6 separate regions of the Homo sapiens genome follow, and regions 1, 2, 4, 5 and 6 are each linked to region 3. Evidence: promoter capture Hi-C in 16 types of primary human blood cells and fetal thymus (Javierre and others, 2016). All regions are on one chromosome and are shown on one strand. The core of a region is centred on a gene start or on the middle of the fragment in contact, and the rest is flanking DNA. Distances in the headings are between cores, read along the strand shown.

Region 1 (2,744 bases), core at 165-2,664, 680 kb before region 3:
GACCTTTCAAGTTACTACTTATAATTCAGTGATAAGAGATAAAGATGATGATCTCAGTTTCAAATCCTAGAGAAAAGCAGAAACCTAGTGGAAAGCAAAGGCTAGCTTGAAGGACACTAAACCCTGTAAAACCCTATTGCATCTAACCATGGTGGGAGGCCCCCTAAAAAACTGAAAGCAACCAGATGGAGCTACAACAGAACAGCGAACTACACACAAATAAGAGTAGAGAGGGTGTCAGAGATCCTCCACAGCTTCTCCAGCTAAATGGAGATGAGCCAGGGCAAACTTATGGAAAACCAGGAATTAACCTAACTTACCTAGTTACTTAAGTACACATCAAAACCAGGCAGCTAAATCAGGAGCTCCTAACCTAGGGCCCAGGAAGCAAAAGAGTACAGAAACTACATACAAAAGCCAAAGTTTAGGTAAACATTGTGTACTCATAGCTTTCCCAACCAAAACTGGGATTGGCTGGCAGGTTAAGGGGGGATTTGTAATGAAAAATAGCAAAGGAATGGTAACCAGGATAACTAGGTCACCAACGAGCTAAAGACACATAATCAACAAAAGGGTATACTAAGTAATGAAACCAAGGAAAAGTTCTGCCAAGGCACCAAAACAGTAGATGAGGAAAGGACAGAACCTACTCCTAGTCAGTCTGATAGCTAGGTAAAATTATCAAGGCAACCTTTATTTTAGGTTATCAAACTTAGACAAAGTAAAGCCTGGTAAGCCTTTCTACTCCAGAGAGCAGAAATGGCAAGACTCAAAAGGAAGCAGTATTACAGTAAGTCACTATATGGCATGAATCAAAGGTGAAGCTTTCAGATAAAATCACAAGAGATTTCCTTGTGTGATACATCTTCAGAGTATTCTGGACATTCTTGAAAGGACAGTAGAGGATTATTCTAAATTACAGCTCAAAACACTTTAGAAGATAGTTTTGTGGTTTACAACATAATGGAGAAAATTTGGATGATCCTTTGATGCTCAGGGAAAACATTTATAATGTAACACAGAATAGACAAATTAAGGTTTGAGGTTTAACACAGAAGGAAAGGCTAACTCATCCAGTAAAATGAGTTCAGGTCTCTAGGCCCCAGACGACTCTAGAAACGTTCAAATGACTTCAAAGCCATTATAAAACATGGTGGGGTGACATGAAATGTGACAGCCTTTCCCCTCTACCTCCCTCCATGACTGACTGTAAAAAGATTAAAAGAAAAATATATGAACAGCTGCCTTTAACATCAAGAAATGGTTAAAGGATGTAGTGATGCTCTGGGGCTTCCAATTAACAACAATCCCTTGGAATTCCCTATCAAGTATTCTGAACGGACACTTCCCTTCTCTCCATGGACAAAGGAGGAAGTCTCAAAAATGAGGGTGTAGTTTTTGCTATTTTTACCACAGGCAAAAATTAACATAGGTGAGAATATAGAAATGGGGAACCCAAAAGTTGCTAAAAGCCTGTTTACTCCAACACTAGAAAGATTACCTCTATGGAAATGAAACAATTTTCTCCAGAAGTGAAAGCAGAATATGGGTGTTTCACAGTAACAGTTAAGACTACCAATAAAGTAACTGTAGTTAACAGAAATCAGTCAGCCCAGGAATCTGAGTATAAAGGAAGAATGGGTCAAGTCAAGATCCTCTTTAAGCTCCTGGCTTTAACAGAAAAACCTTTATTCTAAGCTAAGATGCTTCGGCAGCCTGTCCACTGAGGGAAGAGACAGTACTCCTAACCTAGAAAATAAGACTTAATGAAGTTTTCTCCTTAAAATCTAGCAGATCACAGATACAATATTTCTGAAATCACAGGAGTTTTCACTCAGCCTCCAAAACTAACGGACTATGCAGATATATTTTGTAAGCAATCATTTCTTGGGCCAGGAATAAGGGAAATACCAGAATGCAAAGGCTTCCTTTTCTATACTGACACTTGTTTGGGTAACACCTAAACGTCTCGATCCTTTATCAGGGATATTTTCTTAAAGAAGTTAAAGCTTTCTGAAGTTATTTTGGCCATTTAACTGGCTGGGAAATACATATGGCAAGGGAATAAAACTTGCCTACAAGAAATAAGACCTAAAATTAGCACCCAAATCAAAAGCATAATTAACTTTAAATCTCAATGCAGACAGGTAAAGCTATAAAAACCAGTTGGGGAAGTCCCTAAATCTAAGCATACTTCAAATTCCACTCTCAGGGCTGACATGGTCAACACATTAAAACCACACCAACAGACAGAACTGGACACCACTGCCTCAAAAAAAGGGACCATGAAACTAAAATTAGCATGAATAAAACCAAAATTTCCCTGAAAAAATGCTCAGGAAATCAATCAAGCTCTCACAGACTGGATCTCAGCCACATCCTAATACAAAACCTAAAGGGAATACATCAAGTAAAAATACAACACACTTAGCCTTCCAACAAAATAATCCACATCTCCCTATTCTGAGAACAGCAACCACCTTACAAAAACATATTTGAAAGGACTAACCATCCAATCCCTGTATTATTTTAAAAACTGAATGTGGTTTGTTAGATTTAAAATAGTGGCTCATAAACACTGCATCTCTTAAAACACTGTTTATCATACTAGTTAAGTCTGACTTACTTGACTTAGTCAACCTCAGAAGTTACATGCTTCCTACTCATTTTTTTCCCTTGGCAAAGGTTATCTTCCTGAAACACTGTCATCCCCTTCCTTGTTTTGACTCCCCTTAGCATTAATC
Region 2 (2,984 bases), core at 286-2,785, 670 kb before region 3:
GCTCAGGGGATAGCTGGGTGGAATATACGGAAATGAAATTACTAGTATAGAGATAGTCAAGGAAACCTTACTTTGTGTAAGTGAGATCTTCAAGGGAGTGGTGTAGGAGTGCTCTCAGAGAACTAATGCATCTCTGTATAAAAAGTGACTGAACACCCACTCACTACTTGGAAGTATGAATGTGGAAGTCAAAAACTTTGAGACTTCATTAAGGCAGGTCTTCACGAACCAGCTTAGGACTGAGTGGAAATTAAGAACAACATTGAGTTACTATGCTGACTATGGCTACGTATTGTAGATAATTGAGTTGAAACAACCAATCACTTTCAATGTTCTGAACCCTAAAAAAGGTGGATCACCTAAGGTCAGGAGTTCGAGACCAGTCTGGCTAACATTGTGAAACACTGTCTTTACTAAAAAATACAAAAATTAGCCGGGCGTGGTGGTGCATGCCTGTAATCCCAGCTACTCGGGAGGCCAAGGCATGAGAATCACTTGAACCTGGGAGGCAGAGGTTGCAGTGAGCAGACATCGTACCATTACACTCCGGCCTGGGTGACAAGAGTGAAACTCTGTCTCAAAAAAAAAAAAAAAAAAAAAAAAAAAGAGAGAGAGGCCGGGTGCGGTGGCTCACACCTGTAATCCCAGCACTTTGGGAGGCCGAGGTGGGCGGATCATGAGGTCAGGAGATCGAGACCATCTTGGCTAACTCGGTGAAACCCCGTCTCTACTAAAAATACAAAAAATTAGCCGGGCGCCGTGGCGGGCACCTGTAATCCCAGCTACTCAGGAGGCTGAGGCAGGAGAATGGCATGAACCCGGGAGGCGGAGCTTGCAGTGAGCCGAGATAGCGCCACTGCAGTCCGGCCTGGGCGACAAAGCAAGACTCCTTCTCAAAAAAATAAAAAAAAAAAGAGAGAGAGAGAAGAATGAAATAAAAGACTTTCTCCAGATACTTAAGATAAATCTGGGAAAGAGAGGAAGAGAATAAAAATTAGAATACCCAAATAACAAAATTTAGAGCTCAAACATTAAACATATGAAGAAAATGTTTTGTCTTAGAATTATTATTATGTTACTAATATAGGGTGGGGATAAAAATTCAAACAATAAGAAATGTGCAAAGTGAAAAATGCAAACCCTATTTTCTATCCTCTCTTTCCCAGTCTCGCTCCTCAGAGGTCACCCTAGTTAAAAAATGTAGTGCATAACCTTCTAGACCTTAGATAGATAAATTTAAATTTTTATTTTTATTTTTTTATTATTTATTTATTTATTTTGAGACGGAGTCTTGCTGTCTCCCAGGCTGGAGTGCAGTGGCAAGATCTCGGCTCACTGCAAGCTCCGCCTCCCGGGTTCATGCCATTCTCCTGCCTCAGCCTCCCAAGTAGCTGGGACTACAGGTGCCTGCCACCACACCCGGCTAATTTTTTGTATTTTTGGTAGAGATGGGGTTTCACCATGCTAGCCAGGATGGTCTCGATCTCCTGACCTCACGATCCACCCGCCTCGGCCTCCCAAAGTGCTGGGATTACAGGCATGAGCCACTGAGCCCAGCCTTAAAATTTTCTTTTCATAAACAAATGGAATCATGCTATACATATTTTTTATTTTTTAATTTTTATTTATTATTTTTTTGAGACAGAGTCTCACTCTGTTGCTCAGGCTGTTGTCTCGAACTCCTGACTTCAGGTGACCCACCCGCCTCAGCATCCCAAAGTGCTGGGATTGCAGGCATGAGCCACCATGCCCCGCTCATATTTTTAAATTTTAACATGGTATTCTGTAACTTGCCTTTTTCACTTAGCAATCTAAAATATGCTAAATATTGTTCCACGTCAGTACACATAGATTTATCTCATATTTTAAAACAGTTGTATGGTATTCCGTTGCAAATATGTGCCATAACCTATTATACCATTCCTATTTATGGAGACCTGGAGGGTGAGAAGCCAGCCATTTAAAAAGCAGAGAAAACTGTGTTCCTGGGAAGGGATTAGCAAGGTCACAAAGGCACTGGGGTGAGGATGTTTGTCGGGTTCCAGGAACAGAGAGACCCAACCATGGGATCCCAGTGGGTCCATCTGAGGACCAGAGACTGTGGTACAGAGAGCAGGGCTTGGACTTCCTGGGGTTGTTTCCTGCCTCCACAGTAGCTCTCTGAGAGACCCTGGGCAAGTGTAACCTCTGTGCCTCTGTGGCTTCATCTGTGAAATAGGAATGATAATAATACCTACTTCCTATGCTTGTTGTCAGGATCCAAAGAATTACTATTTTACATAAAAAGCCCTTAGAACAATGTCTAACTCATAATAAGTCAGCAGTGATTATGCAGGTCATGGAAAGGATGTCAGATGTTATTTAAGTGCAGTGGGGGCTGGGCACGGTGGTTCACACCTGTAATTCCAGCACTTTGGGAGGCCAAGGCAGGTGGATGGGTCACTTGAAGTCAGGAGTTCGAGACCAGCCTGGCCAACATGGCGAAACCCCGCCTCTATTAAAAAAATACAAAAATTAGCCAGGCGTGGTGGCAGGCACCTGTAACCCCAGCTACTCGGAAAGCTGAGGCAGGAGAATCTCTTGAACCCGGGAGGCAGAGGTTGCAGTTAGCCAAGATCGTGCCACTGCACTCCAGCCTGGGCAATAGAGTGAGACTTTGCCTCAAAAATAAATAAATAATTAAATAAATGCAATGGGAAGCTATCGAAATGTTTTAATTAGGGGGAATGTCTTGACTCAGTTTTTATTTTTATAAGATTACATTCCCCATTGGATGGAGAATGGGTTGGAAGGAGGTAAAAGCTAGGATACCAGTTAGGAAGCTATTGCATTTGTCCAGGTAAGAGACCATTGCAACACAGTAATAGCAAAGGAGATAGAGAAAAAAGGGCAGTGGTAGATCTATTTTGAGTCCAGAATTGAGTGGACTTGTAATAGGGTAAGGGGATGGAGATGTCAAGAACTCAAGAGGGTCTATGGTGCCC
Region 3 (2,700 bases), core at 161-2,660:
CTGGATGACCAGAGTTTGTTTTTCATCTGGAAGAATCATGGTCCCCCTCTTGGAGAGAACCTGGAGTCCTGGCCACACCTTCTGAGCTTCTGACATTAAGATTCGGTGTGGTGTGTGAGCAGCTGGGAGTAAATGTGAGAACAGTCCTGCCAACTACCTTCTCTGCCCCATCACCACTCACTTCACCTCCCTCACCCCGATTCTCACCCCAGAAAATCAATATTAAGCTTCCCTTTGGAGGGGCCCCTCTTCTTTCTTTTTTTTTTAACCAGTTTTTTTTTCTCTGAAGCAATATCAAACATTAGAACAAATTCACCCACACACAATGATGGCCTCTAAATATTTGAAGACCATGTTGGTCTCCATGAGAGGGCTTCTTTGCTTCAGACTAAACCAAACCAGGTCCTTGTGTGATATTTCCCAAGCCTCTCTTTATCCTGCCAACCCTCCTTGGATGTCACACTTGGAATTGTCAAGGGTCACTTAATAGGCAGTGCCTGGAGTCAACACTGGCCCTCTGTTCTGGCCAGAAAGACACACTGTAATTCTGCTGAGTCTGCAAAGAATGTTCAAGGGGTATTTGTGTCCGTAGCTGCTCGTGCAGCATCTCAGCCTGCGGTGTCAGACTCGAACCCAGAGCTGTGTCAAATGAGTCAGGACTCCCCTCTGCTGCCCTTGTGCACTGGCAGGGGCACTAGGTTACTAGTGCTAGGAGACTCTGGTCAGTGCCCATCTGTGCTGTCACATGCAGGGCCCTGGCAGTGAGGTCTGGAGAAGGAAGAGAAGGGGCAGGGAACCCCACACGTTTTGCTGGTCATTTCCCACCGTGGTCCTGCCACGGGAACCCCCTTCTTCCACCTCCATTCCCCACTTTAGGCAGAAACATCTCTCATCCTTTTTCTTTTCTCCAAGAATCTTCCCCCAAAATCTTGGCATCTCCTATACACATCTGTACCTTTGCTATATCTGTGGGCCTTGTTCTCCCTGTAGGACTCCTCTTGGAAAGCTAACTCCCCCTGACATTGGAGAATTTTATCAAATTGCTGAGTATCCTCCCTTCCCTCTCACAGACCCCATGGCATGCTCAGATCACAGTAGAAGACATTTCCTCTGCTGCCAAACCCATGGCACTCTGAGGCTGACTGTGTCCACCTCATTCCCTCAGCTGTCTTCTCTTTGCTGCTATTACCATGTTCCAAGCAGACTTTGGAGCATCTCCCCCACAGCAGCATGGACTTTGGCAGATTTCTTGGGGACCAGCGATGTCCTAACCTGTTTGCTTTTCCAGGGCTGATGTTTGCAGGGTGTTTTTTTTTTTCTTTTGAACCAAAGCAGAAATCATCCTGTATCCTTATGCAATTCTTCCGGCAGGCTCCAACAGATAAATAAAGCCCACCACCCTCCATGGGTCTACCTTTCCCAGCAGAGCACCTGGGTTGGTCCCGAAGCCTCCAACCACCTGCACGCCTGCCAGGGCCTCTCTGGGGCAGCCATGAAGTCCCTCGTCCTGCTCCTTTGTCTTGCTCAGCTCTGGGGCTGCCACTCAGCCCCACATGGCCCAGGGCTGATTTATAGACAACCGAACTGCGATGATCCAGAAACTGAGGAAGCAGCTCTGGTGGCTATAGACTACATCAATCAAAACCTTCCTTGGGGATACAAACACACCTTGAACCAGATTGATGAAGTAAAGGTGTGGCCTCAGGTAAGTGGACCTGCTGTCTATGAGCTGAAATAATGTGTACATGGAGCTCAATCAGGTGCCTCAAAAAATCACCATCACCCAGTGCAAATGAAACCACAGAGGAGTAAATTCTCTGATTTCTTCCCAGGAGTGAGGGAAGGGGCAGGCAGAGGGCAGGAGAGGAGACATTCTGTATGGCAGTCATGGGTGTCAGGAGGGAGCTGGGTGGGGTGTGAGGTGGTGTGCAGGAGAAAAAGTGCTTCAAATGGTAGTGTGCAGATCACAGACAGAAAGTGTAACTTGCTGGAAAAACTAGGACCCAAGAGACCAGCTCCTAGTTGCCAAGTTACCACTGGCTGAAAATCACGTATCTGTCTTTGGTTTGGTTTCTCTCTAACAAAGACTGAGAATGAATAAAACTAGCATCTGGCAGATGCCTACTATATGCCAGGCCCATTCACATAGATTATCTCATTTACTCTTTCCCGGTCCTGCCTCCTGGTGCTGTGTGGTACATATATTGTTCTTGTCTTACCCAAGAGGAGACCAAGGCTCTGTTGTGTGTGTGTGTGCAGTTTTTTTGTTTTTTGTTTTTGTCTTTTTTTTTTTGGTCCAAAATCATATAATTACTAAGTCTTCAGGCTGGGATTTGATTCCATATCTGTGTTCCTTCTTCTACACAAACTGCCTCCCAAAGAGAGTTACCCACATCCCAGAGAGAAGTCTTGGCATAAACACAATTCACCTCCTCACACACTAGACAGGAAACCAACGCAGCTTGAAGCCAGTGACAAGAAAAATCAAGCTGGAAATATGCCTCGGGGATCAGTCAAGAGATTTGGAGAGGTGGAAAGAAGCTGTCTGCCTACTGCCTGTTTTGAAATTAGATTTATTTCTGATTAAGGACAATTCTTTCAGCAAATATGTATTACAAGCCTTCCTTGGACAAGAACCAGAGATATTAGGTTGAACCATATAAAACTGCCATTTTTCTATATCAAAAGCAACCAAATATT
Region 4 (2,830 bases), core at 152-2,651, 550 kb before region 3:
TAATTAGTAGGTCAGCACTAATGAAGGCAAAGTCACAGGCTCAACCTTGCCTACTGCTCCTGCTCCTAATTAGAGTGAGATGATCTCAGAGACTTACTGAATTAAGTTGGTCCCAAAGGGATAGGGCACAAGAACTTGAGCAGACAGCATACACCCTTGATATAAAACGATCATCTTCACATAAAAATAAATGTTAGGATATGTGATAATCCAGGCTTGTGGGTAAACTGCTTTATATCTGTTCTCATGTTTCTCCTTTGAGGTATTTTTTAAAAATCCAATGAGAAAACATTTGTGTCCTTCAATAATGCATTTTGTACATAACATACCTCTCCACTCCCATCCCCAGTACTCCCTACCCCCTGCTAGCTCACTTCCCCACCAGCCCCCTCAAGGTTGGTGAAGAATACCTTCAATTTCCCTCCCATGTTAAAAATGGCAACCATTTATCATATAATAATAATTACAATGAAGAGTTACCCACCCAAGCACTCAAACTAAGTAAAAAACCTAGAGACACATTTTTAAAACTCTAAGACATCCTTGGACCCTCACTGACATAACTGTAAAACATATAAAAACCACCCTCACTGACATAACTCCTAAATTCCAGTTTCAGCTGATAGTGTTATATAAACATAACCTCCATTTCTGGAAATGTGGAAATAAGGTGGGTTTGTTTTTTCTCCAAATTGTCCTATACTGTTAAAAAGTTGGGGTCATTGCTAATGAAAATGGCAGCCCTCACAGGGCTTAGGGGCATGCTTGAAACCCTGCGTGCAAAATAATTGAAGATTACAATCAATCAGCTCTCATATTCATGAGCTAAGCAAGGTTTAAACTATGATCTCAAATCTTAGCCTGGAAACTGAGCAATTTTAAGCTTGGGTATTAGTCAAGCAAAGAAAGAGGAAGGAAGGAAGGTAGGAGAAAGAAAAGCCGAGAGAAAGAAAGGAAGAAAGGAGAGGAGAGAGGAGAGAAGAGGAAAGAAAAGCAGGTTCCTTACCTTCATGGCTGCTGGAGAAATAACCCCCTCTCATGTAGGATGACTGGCAGTTAGGCACTTCTGAAAGGAAAGCAAAGGTGGACACAATCCTGTCAATAGTTTCTGCAGCAGAAACAGCACATCGGTCAACTGCAGCTCTGTGGTAAAGCCCCTAAACTTCCTGCTCTGGGGTCATGTCTTTCTGGCTTTGTCCTGGGAAAGAGGTGCCACACCAATAAGCAAGATGGCAAACACCATAACCCACCAGCTGAAAGGCAGGCTCTCCTAATCAAGAGTCACGGGAGGAAAAAAAAGATGTTTCACTCTCATTGTTCACTTATTTTAGAAATGTGTTAACACTAAATCTGGTGAAAGAGCCAATGGCAGGGGAAAAAATACTGGCTTTCAAAAGGCCAAGCCTGGCCTCTTGCCCATGCTGACTCCTGGGTGTTAGGGTGGGAACGGGAAGAGGACTGCTTTAGATCTTTTCTAATTTGCTCCCCTTTACTGCTGGTGGTCACATCTAATTTTGCTCCAACAGGTGGGAGTATTTTTAGGCCAAAGGGATTAGGGGACCTGAAGTTAGGAAGCCAGGACCAGCATTGGAAGGGGTAGAGGATTGCAGTTTGGTCCATTTTTGCCATGCTGGGGCTGTCATACTGAAACCAAACCACACTCAAGTGATCTCTTCTTCAGCCATCATGTTATCAGTGTCCATCGAGACGAAAGACAGTAATTTGAGTTGTGTCCATGTGGGATGAGCCATCACCCTGGCAATACAACTCAGATCAAAGAATTACAGATATGGTAACCTCTGTTGAGTGTCTTGCTTTAAGGGAGTGGAGTGGGGTGCAAAACCCATCAGGACAGATCAAAATGTCAGTCTTAAAGGAAAAAATGTTGCTGTTCATGCTACTCCTGAGAAAAATACATCAAAGCTTTCCAGAGGAATGCTGATGGAAATGTTTACACACGATCACTACCTCACACTTGGTAATTTTTCTGTCATAAAGCAACAGGTCTCTCCCTTCTGCCTATTTCCTCAGCATTTCCCATAACCAACTGGTGCCTGAATAGATCAATCTATGTATTATCTCAGAGAAGGTCGAGCAAATTCCATCCAAAACTGAACCCCAACACTCTCCAGGCTTGGACTCAGAGATGTACTTCATACCACTTCTGAATGCCTACCGCACTTCCTACCACTTACATAGCTTTTCTGTTTTGTTTTGTATTCCATTGCGCATAAACATGTCAGCTCTACTAGCTCCTAAGTTATTTGAGGGCAATTCTTATAAAAATTATAAAAAATTCTTATAAAAATTCCTGTCCCCAAGGCCCTGCATGTATAAGACACTGAATAACGAGACAGAAGAATGCAAGAATGAAGCAAAGAATAGCACAATTTGATGCTGACCTGAATCGACGCAGTAATCCCGAGGCTCCTGCTTGATTCCCATTGGTGACTGGAACCCGTGTGCTGGGGGCCCTGGCATGCCCGGGACCCCATGTTCATAGAGTGGGTCATGGTATTCTTGTTTGAATCCCTGAGGGGGCGGGGGAGCTGCAGGGACAATAGGTTCTGACATTTGCCGATGGTAACTGGGGCGATTATCTCCAGGAACTCCTGGCTGAGGAGGGAAGGGGTGGCAGGGTTCAGACAGTTGTCTCTGAAATCTGTAAGAAGAAAGAGGTTTTCATGTTGAACAAAGACTTGATGAATTCCTACTATGATTGAGCACTGGGGACTAGAAGTTCCAATTAATGAAATTATTTGCAAAGTACTTAATAATGCTTATTTCTGGGCATTTTACCCTCTTCCCAAAATTACATTGTGTATTTCGA
Region 5 (2,708 bases), core at 91-2,590, 700 kb before region 3:
TACCACCACACCCGGCTAATTTTTGTATTTTTAGTAGAGACAGGGTTTCACCATGTTGGCCAGGGTGGTCTTGAACTCCTGATCTCAAGTGATCCGCCCACCTCGGCCTCCCAAAGTGCTGGGATTGCAGGCATGAGCCACCACGCCCAGCCTATTTCTTTCTTTTAAAAGACAGAGTTTCCTTATATTGCCCAGGCTGGTCTCGAACTACTGGGCTCAAGGGATCCTCCTGCCTCAGCCTTCCAAAGTGCTAGGATTACAGGTGTCAGCCACCACTCCTGGCCCTACTCTCTTAATAGTGTTTTTAGGTGACTGGAAGTGCTTAACAGCTTTATTAAGATGAAATCCGTCTGCTTAAAGTGCAAAATTCCATCGCTTTTAGTATATTTACAAAGTTAAGTGACCATCACTACAATCAGTTTTAGAATATTTTTCCTCAGGCCCAAAGTGACTGCCATACCTATTAGCAGTCACTTCCCCTTCCTCCTGCAAATTGCCGTGCCTAGGAAACTACTAGTCTACTTTCTCTGCATAGAACTCTCTGTTCTGCATATTTCATATATATTAAATCATGTAATATATGGTCTTTTGTGACTGGTTCCTTTCACTTAAAATGTTTTGAAGGTTCATTCATGTCAGCATGTATCATTACTTCATTCCTTTTTATTGCCAAATAATATTCCATTGTATAGATATATCACTTTATTTATTTATTTATTTATTTATTTATTTATTTATTGAGACGGAGTCTCGCTCTGTCGCCCAGTCCGGAGTGCAGTGGCGCGATCTCGGCTCACTGCAAGCTCTGCCTCCCAGGTTCACGCCATTCTCCTGCCTCAGCCTTTGGAGTAGCTGGGACTACAGGCGCCCGCCACCGCACCCGGCTAATTTTCTGTATTTTTAGTAGAGACGGGGTTTCACCATGTTAGCCAGGATGGTCTCGATCTCCTGGCCTTGTGATCCGCCCGTCTCATCCTCCTAAAGTGCTGTGATTACGGGCGTGAGCCACCGCGCCCGGCCCGGATATATCACATTTTATTAATCAATTCATCAGCTGAAGGAACATTTGGGGTGTTTCTGTTTTTCGGCTATCACTAATAATGCTGCTATGAACATCCACGTACAAATTTTTGTGTGAACCTATGTTTACGATTTTTTGGGTATAAACCCAGGAGTAGAATTGCTGAGTTGTATGGTAATTCTATGTTTAACTTTTACTTATTTATTATTTTTTTGAGACAGAATCTTGCTCTGTCTCCCAGGCTGGGGTGCAGTGGCATGATCTGGCTCACTGCAAACCCCGCCTCCCAGGTTCAAGTGATTCTCCTGCCTCAGCCTCCCGAGTAGCTGGGACTACAGGCACGCACCACCACGCCCTGCTAGGTTTCTTTTTTGTACTTTAGTAGAGATGGGGTTTCACCATGTTGGCCAGGCTGGTCTCGAACTCCTGGCCTCAAGTGATCCGCCTGCCTCAGCCTTCCAAAGTACTGGGATTAGAGGCTTCAGCTATCACCAGTAACTTCTATAAAGCTCAACAAAGGTAAAGTCAAGGGCAAATCTTCTCCCTCAAACCAACTTCTTTCTTTCTTCTCATTTTTAACAGGGCCACTGCGAGCGGCCAGGAGCCCAGGCTCGCAGTCAGCAACTCTTCCTTTCCCATTAACTCCCATAGTCTTTCACAAATTCCTATTTGTCCTTTTTTCCAAATGCCTCTTGCATTTTTTTGAAATGTAACAATTTATTGATCAATATAAATGAAATAAAATTTAGAATTTATTTCCAACTTTGCTATATTGCATAGTAACGAGACTCCATCTCAATAATTATGAATTTCCATATCTAAATCCAAAGATTCTTAGATTTGTAAGAATTTGGAAGTTATTTTCTATCCTCCCATTTTATAGAAAAGCAAACCAATGCCTGGAAAATTAGGCATATTTTAAACGGTCTTACATTAATTAATTGTAAAGAGAGTAATATAATGAAGTCTCCTGTCTTCTAGACAAGTGTATTTTTTTTTTATTTATTTAAGTTCTAGGGTACATGTGCACAACGTGCAGGTTTGTTACATATGTATATATGTTCCATGTTGGTGTACTGCATCCATTAACTCATTTACATTACGTATATCTCCTAATGCTACCCCTCCACCCTCCCCCAACCCCATGACAGGCCCCGGTGTATGATGTTCCCCTTCCTGTGTCCAAGTGTTCTCATTGTTCAGTTCCCACCTATGAGTGAGAACGTGTGGTGGTTTTTTGTCCTTGCAATAGTTTGCTGAGAATGATGGTTTCTAGCTTCATGCATGTCCCTACAGAGAACATGAACTCATCCGTTTTTATGGCTGCATAGTATTCCATGGTGTATATGTGCCACATTTTCTTAATCCAGTCTATCATTGATGGACATTTGGGTTGGTTCCAAGTCTTTGCTGTTGTGAATAGTACTACAATAAACATACATGTACATGTGTCTTTATAGCAGCATGATTTATAATCCTTTGGGTATATACAGTAATGGGATGGCGGGGTCAAATGGTATTTCTAATTCTAGATCCTTGAGGAATTACCACACTCTTCCACAATGGTTGAACTAGTTTACAGTCCCACCAACAGTGTAAAAGTGTTCCTATTTCTCCACATCCTCTTCAGCACCTTTGTTTCCTGACTTTTTAAAGATCGCCATTCTAACTGGTGTGAGATGGTATC
Region 6 (2,700 bases), core at 37-2,536, 580 kb after region 3:
CACAGAGAGTCAAGGTTTTGAAAGTGAGATGGTGGCACTCAGTAAAGAAGAGCTTCTTAATAGCCAGGGGTTAGAGAGTGCTGCTATCACTGGATAACGAGCTCCACATCACTGGAAATGTTCACATTCAGGCTAGGTAACTGCTTGGCTCTCAATAGGCATTGGTTATTACTTCAATTTCAGAGGCAACCCTAATCCCAGATCACTGGGTCTGTCTAAAGATAGACAGTGAAGTCTCCTCATTCTATATGAAGAACCATCTTCTCACTAAATTAAAATCTGATTATTTTATACCTATTTATGTCTTCATATGAAATGTCTCAGAGTCACTGGCACATCTGATTAGGATTAGACTAGATAATTTCCAAGATCCCTTTTACTCCATAATTCTGTTCTATACATCTTTGTATTTTCAGGTCATATGGTAGAGACTCAGCCAAAGTGACTGAATGCAAATGTGATTCAGGTTTATTCTGTGGCCACTGTGAAATACACATCTGCTGTCCAGAGCGGTTTCCTCTCATTTGCAAAAGAGAGGACCAAGTTTTCTTGTTTTATTGCTTTTCTTGGAAAGATCATGCTCAGAAGGAGGGCAAGTGTGCATCAGAATGGATTTTTTTCTACTCCTTCCTCCACTTTCTTTCTTTCTTTTTACCCTAGTGAGTAGAGGTCTTTGATATAATAGAATAAAGGGACATAAACTTTGTTAGCATAGTAAGAAATGACAGCTATGCAATGGAATGTGGTCAGTATTAGTGGGAGAAAGGTTATTAGCTTATAGATACTCTACACCGAAGGTTGAAGCAAGGTCCTGAAGAGAAAGTAGAAGAGCAGAAGAGATCAAAGAGAAGACCTAGAAAGGAGACCAGAAAAAATAAGGGGAAGTTCTGGACATGCATTCTAGGTGGACTCTCAGTGGACCTATTGGAGATTTGATGGAAGAGTAAAGGAAAGTTGTGTCCTGTCTTCTGAACTCCATGAGTATGCCATTCAACCACAGTAAGACGGTCTGATAATGTACAGTGACTTCATTTCCTACTAGACCTTCCATGAAATGTTATTAGGGTTGAACGGTTGCATATCTTTCCAAAACTGCTTCAGGAAGAATCTCTTGGGGGTACAGTCTGAAGATACGTTCCCATAATAGTGGCTGCTTGGCAACAGGAACATGCTTAAGGGTCAGTCTTCATGTCCTAAGCCAAAGGCTCTGGGTTAGTGTGGGTCACCTGGCTATTGATGTTCACTGGACATGAAATGAGTGAGACTAATTTATCTCTATATCCCATGTGTCCAGTATAGAGCCTGGCACATGGTAGTTGATAATTCAGAGTGTTTTAAAAAACAAATAAATGAATAACATTGTTGCTTCCCCACATGTAATGTTGCCTTGCCCCTTCTTCAGAATAAGGGGAAGGAAGCTGTCTTTTATTTTAGATCAAATATCCTGAAAATAGGGAAATTAGTTTTTGAGGACTTGATAATTTCTCTCAAGTATGCCCTTCTTCACTTCCTGGACCATGGCACTGTTCCCTTGGTAATATCCATAGAACATTTTCTGATGAATGCTCTTCTCAAAGACAAGATCTTGCACTTGAAAAAAAAAAAAAAAGCAGAGAGACTGGGCAGTAGTGCATGCCTGTAGTCTTAGAACTTTGGGAGGCTGAGGTGGGAAGATCACGTGAGCCCAGGAGTTTGAGACCAGCCGAGGCAACACAGTGAGACCCTACCTCTACAAAAAAAAAAAAAAAAAAAAAAAAAAAAAAAAAAAATTAAAAAATCAGCTGATCATGATGGTGCATGCCTGTAGTTCCAGTTATTTGGGAGGCTGATGTGGGTGGATCACTTGAGCCCAGGAGATCGAGGCTGCAGTGAACCATGATTGAACCACTGCACTCCAGTCTGAGTGACAGAGTGAGACCCTGTCTCAAAAAACAAACATAGAAAAAACAAAACACATAGACTGGGCACAGTGATGTGTGCCTATAATTCCAGCTACTCAGGAGGCTGAAAAGGAGGATTGCTTGAGCCTGAGAGCTCAAGAGTAACTTGGGCAACATAGACAGAACCCATCTCTGAAAAAAAAAAACACAGAGTTTTATGGGGATAAAACTTCAAGAGAATGAAGACTGGGGGACTTTGGATTTTGGGCTGTATATCTCTGAAGGGCCCTCGCTGATGGTAGGCACATATGCCTCACAAAATTGAGCAAGAGCTTGGAAAAGAAGTTCAATGGTTGCTGTTGGGGTGGAGGGGAAGCAAAGGAAGAGGTTCTTATAAATCATGACTGGGCATGCAGAGGTGGGTGGTACTGGCAGGCTGGGTACCTGTAATGCTTTCCTTTGCTTTGACCCAAAGGGAGCAGCCCTACTGTTCCTATCTGGCTATGTTTTGGGATTGGACTTGCTGGATTAGTTTACTCTTTGGCTACTTTGCCTTTTTGATCCTTAGTTTGCTTTTTTTTTTTTTTTTTTTTGCAAAATAATGTCAACCTCTACCTACATCATAGAATTGGACATCGTGTTCTCAAGGCACTAAGCTCTTTGAAGGATGAAGAAAAATAATCAGGTACTGTGGTAGAAAGTCTCCAAAGATGGCTGCCACCAATTCCTTCCCTTCCTATAGGCACAGGCAATTTCCCCATCAAGAGTTGAAGTTTATTTCCCATTCCCCTATATCGGGCTGGCCCTGTGATTGCTTTCA

The links. Contacts are between HindIII fragments. The CHiCAGO score rates a contact against its expected background, and 5 or more counts as called.
Region 1: a contact is called between a fragment that was not itself captured here and the fragment with the promoter of AHSG in region 3, in 3 of 17 cell types (activated CD4 T cells, total CD4 T cells and naive CD4 T cells). The highest score is 7.0, in activated CD4 T cells.
Region 2: a fragment that was not itself captured here is called in contact with the fragment with the promoter of AHSG in region 3 in 11 of 17 cell types (activated CD4 T cells, non-activated CD4 T cells, naive CD4 T cells and 8 more); the score reaches 13.3 in activated CD4 T cells.
Region 4: a fragment that was not itself captured here is called in contact with the fragment with the promoter of AHSG in region 3 in 1 of 17 cell types (activated CD4 T cells); the score reaches 5.0 in activated CD4 T cells.
Region 5: a contact is called between a fragment that was not itself captured here and the fragment with the promoter of AHSG in region 3, in 6 of 17 cell types (naive CD8 T cells, activated CD4 T cells, total CD8 T cells and 3 more). The highest score is 9.4, in naive CD8 T cells.
Region 6: a contact is called between a fragment that was not itself captured here and the fragment with the promoter of AHSG in region 3, in 2 of 17 cell types (total B cells and naive B cells). The highest score is 5.9, in total B cells.

The regions. Positions count from the first base shown.
Region 1 is chr3:185,927,193-185,929,936 of GRCh38, forward strand. All of the region lies in intron 1 of TRA2B (transformer 2 beta homolog), which reads right to left. Among named protein-coding and RNA genes, the nearest start is that of TRA2B, 9.4 kb to the right of the region's middle. The HindIII fragment of the contact is 1,185 bases long and covers 823-2,007 here.
Region 2 is chr3:185,944,350-185,947,333 of GRCh38, forward strand. No RefSeq gene overlaps it. Among named protein-coding and RNA genes, the nearest start is that of TRA2B, 7.8 kb to the left of the region's middle. The HindIII fragment of the contact is 4,953 bases long and covers 1-2,984 here.
Region 3 is chr3:186,611,650-186,614,349 of GRCh38, forward strand. AHSG (alpha 2-HS glycoprotein) reads left to right here and starts at 1,411. Exons shown (of 7, transcript NM_001622.4): 1 at 1,411-1,705. The coding sequence starts at 1,493. The HindIII fragment of the contact is 5,898 bases long and covers 226-2,700 here.
Region 4 is chr3:186,063,411-186,066,240 of GRCh38, forward strand. ETV5 (ETS variant transcription factor 5) reads right to left here. Exons shown (of 13, transcript NM_004454.3): 8 at 2,403-2,662; 9 at 1,007-1,066. Among named protein-coding and RNA genes, the nearest start is that of ETV5-AS1, 14 kb to the right of the region's middle. The HindIII fragment of the contact is 1,040 bases long and covers 882-1,921 here.
Region 5 is chr3:185,907,771-185,910,478 of GRCh38, forward strand. No RefSeq gene overlaps it. Among named protein-coding and RNA genes, the nearest start is that of TRA2B, 29 kb to the right of the region's middle. The HindIII fragment of the contact is 3,858 bases long and covers 1-2,708 here.
Region 6 is chr3:187,189,205-187,191,904 of GRCh38, forward strand. No RefSeq gene overlaps it. Among named protein-coding and RNA genes, the nearest start is that of RTP1, 6.9 kb to the right of the region's middle. The HindIII fragment of the contact is 2,953 bases long and covers 1-2,700 here.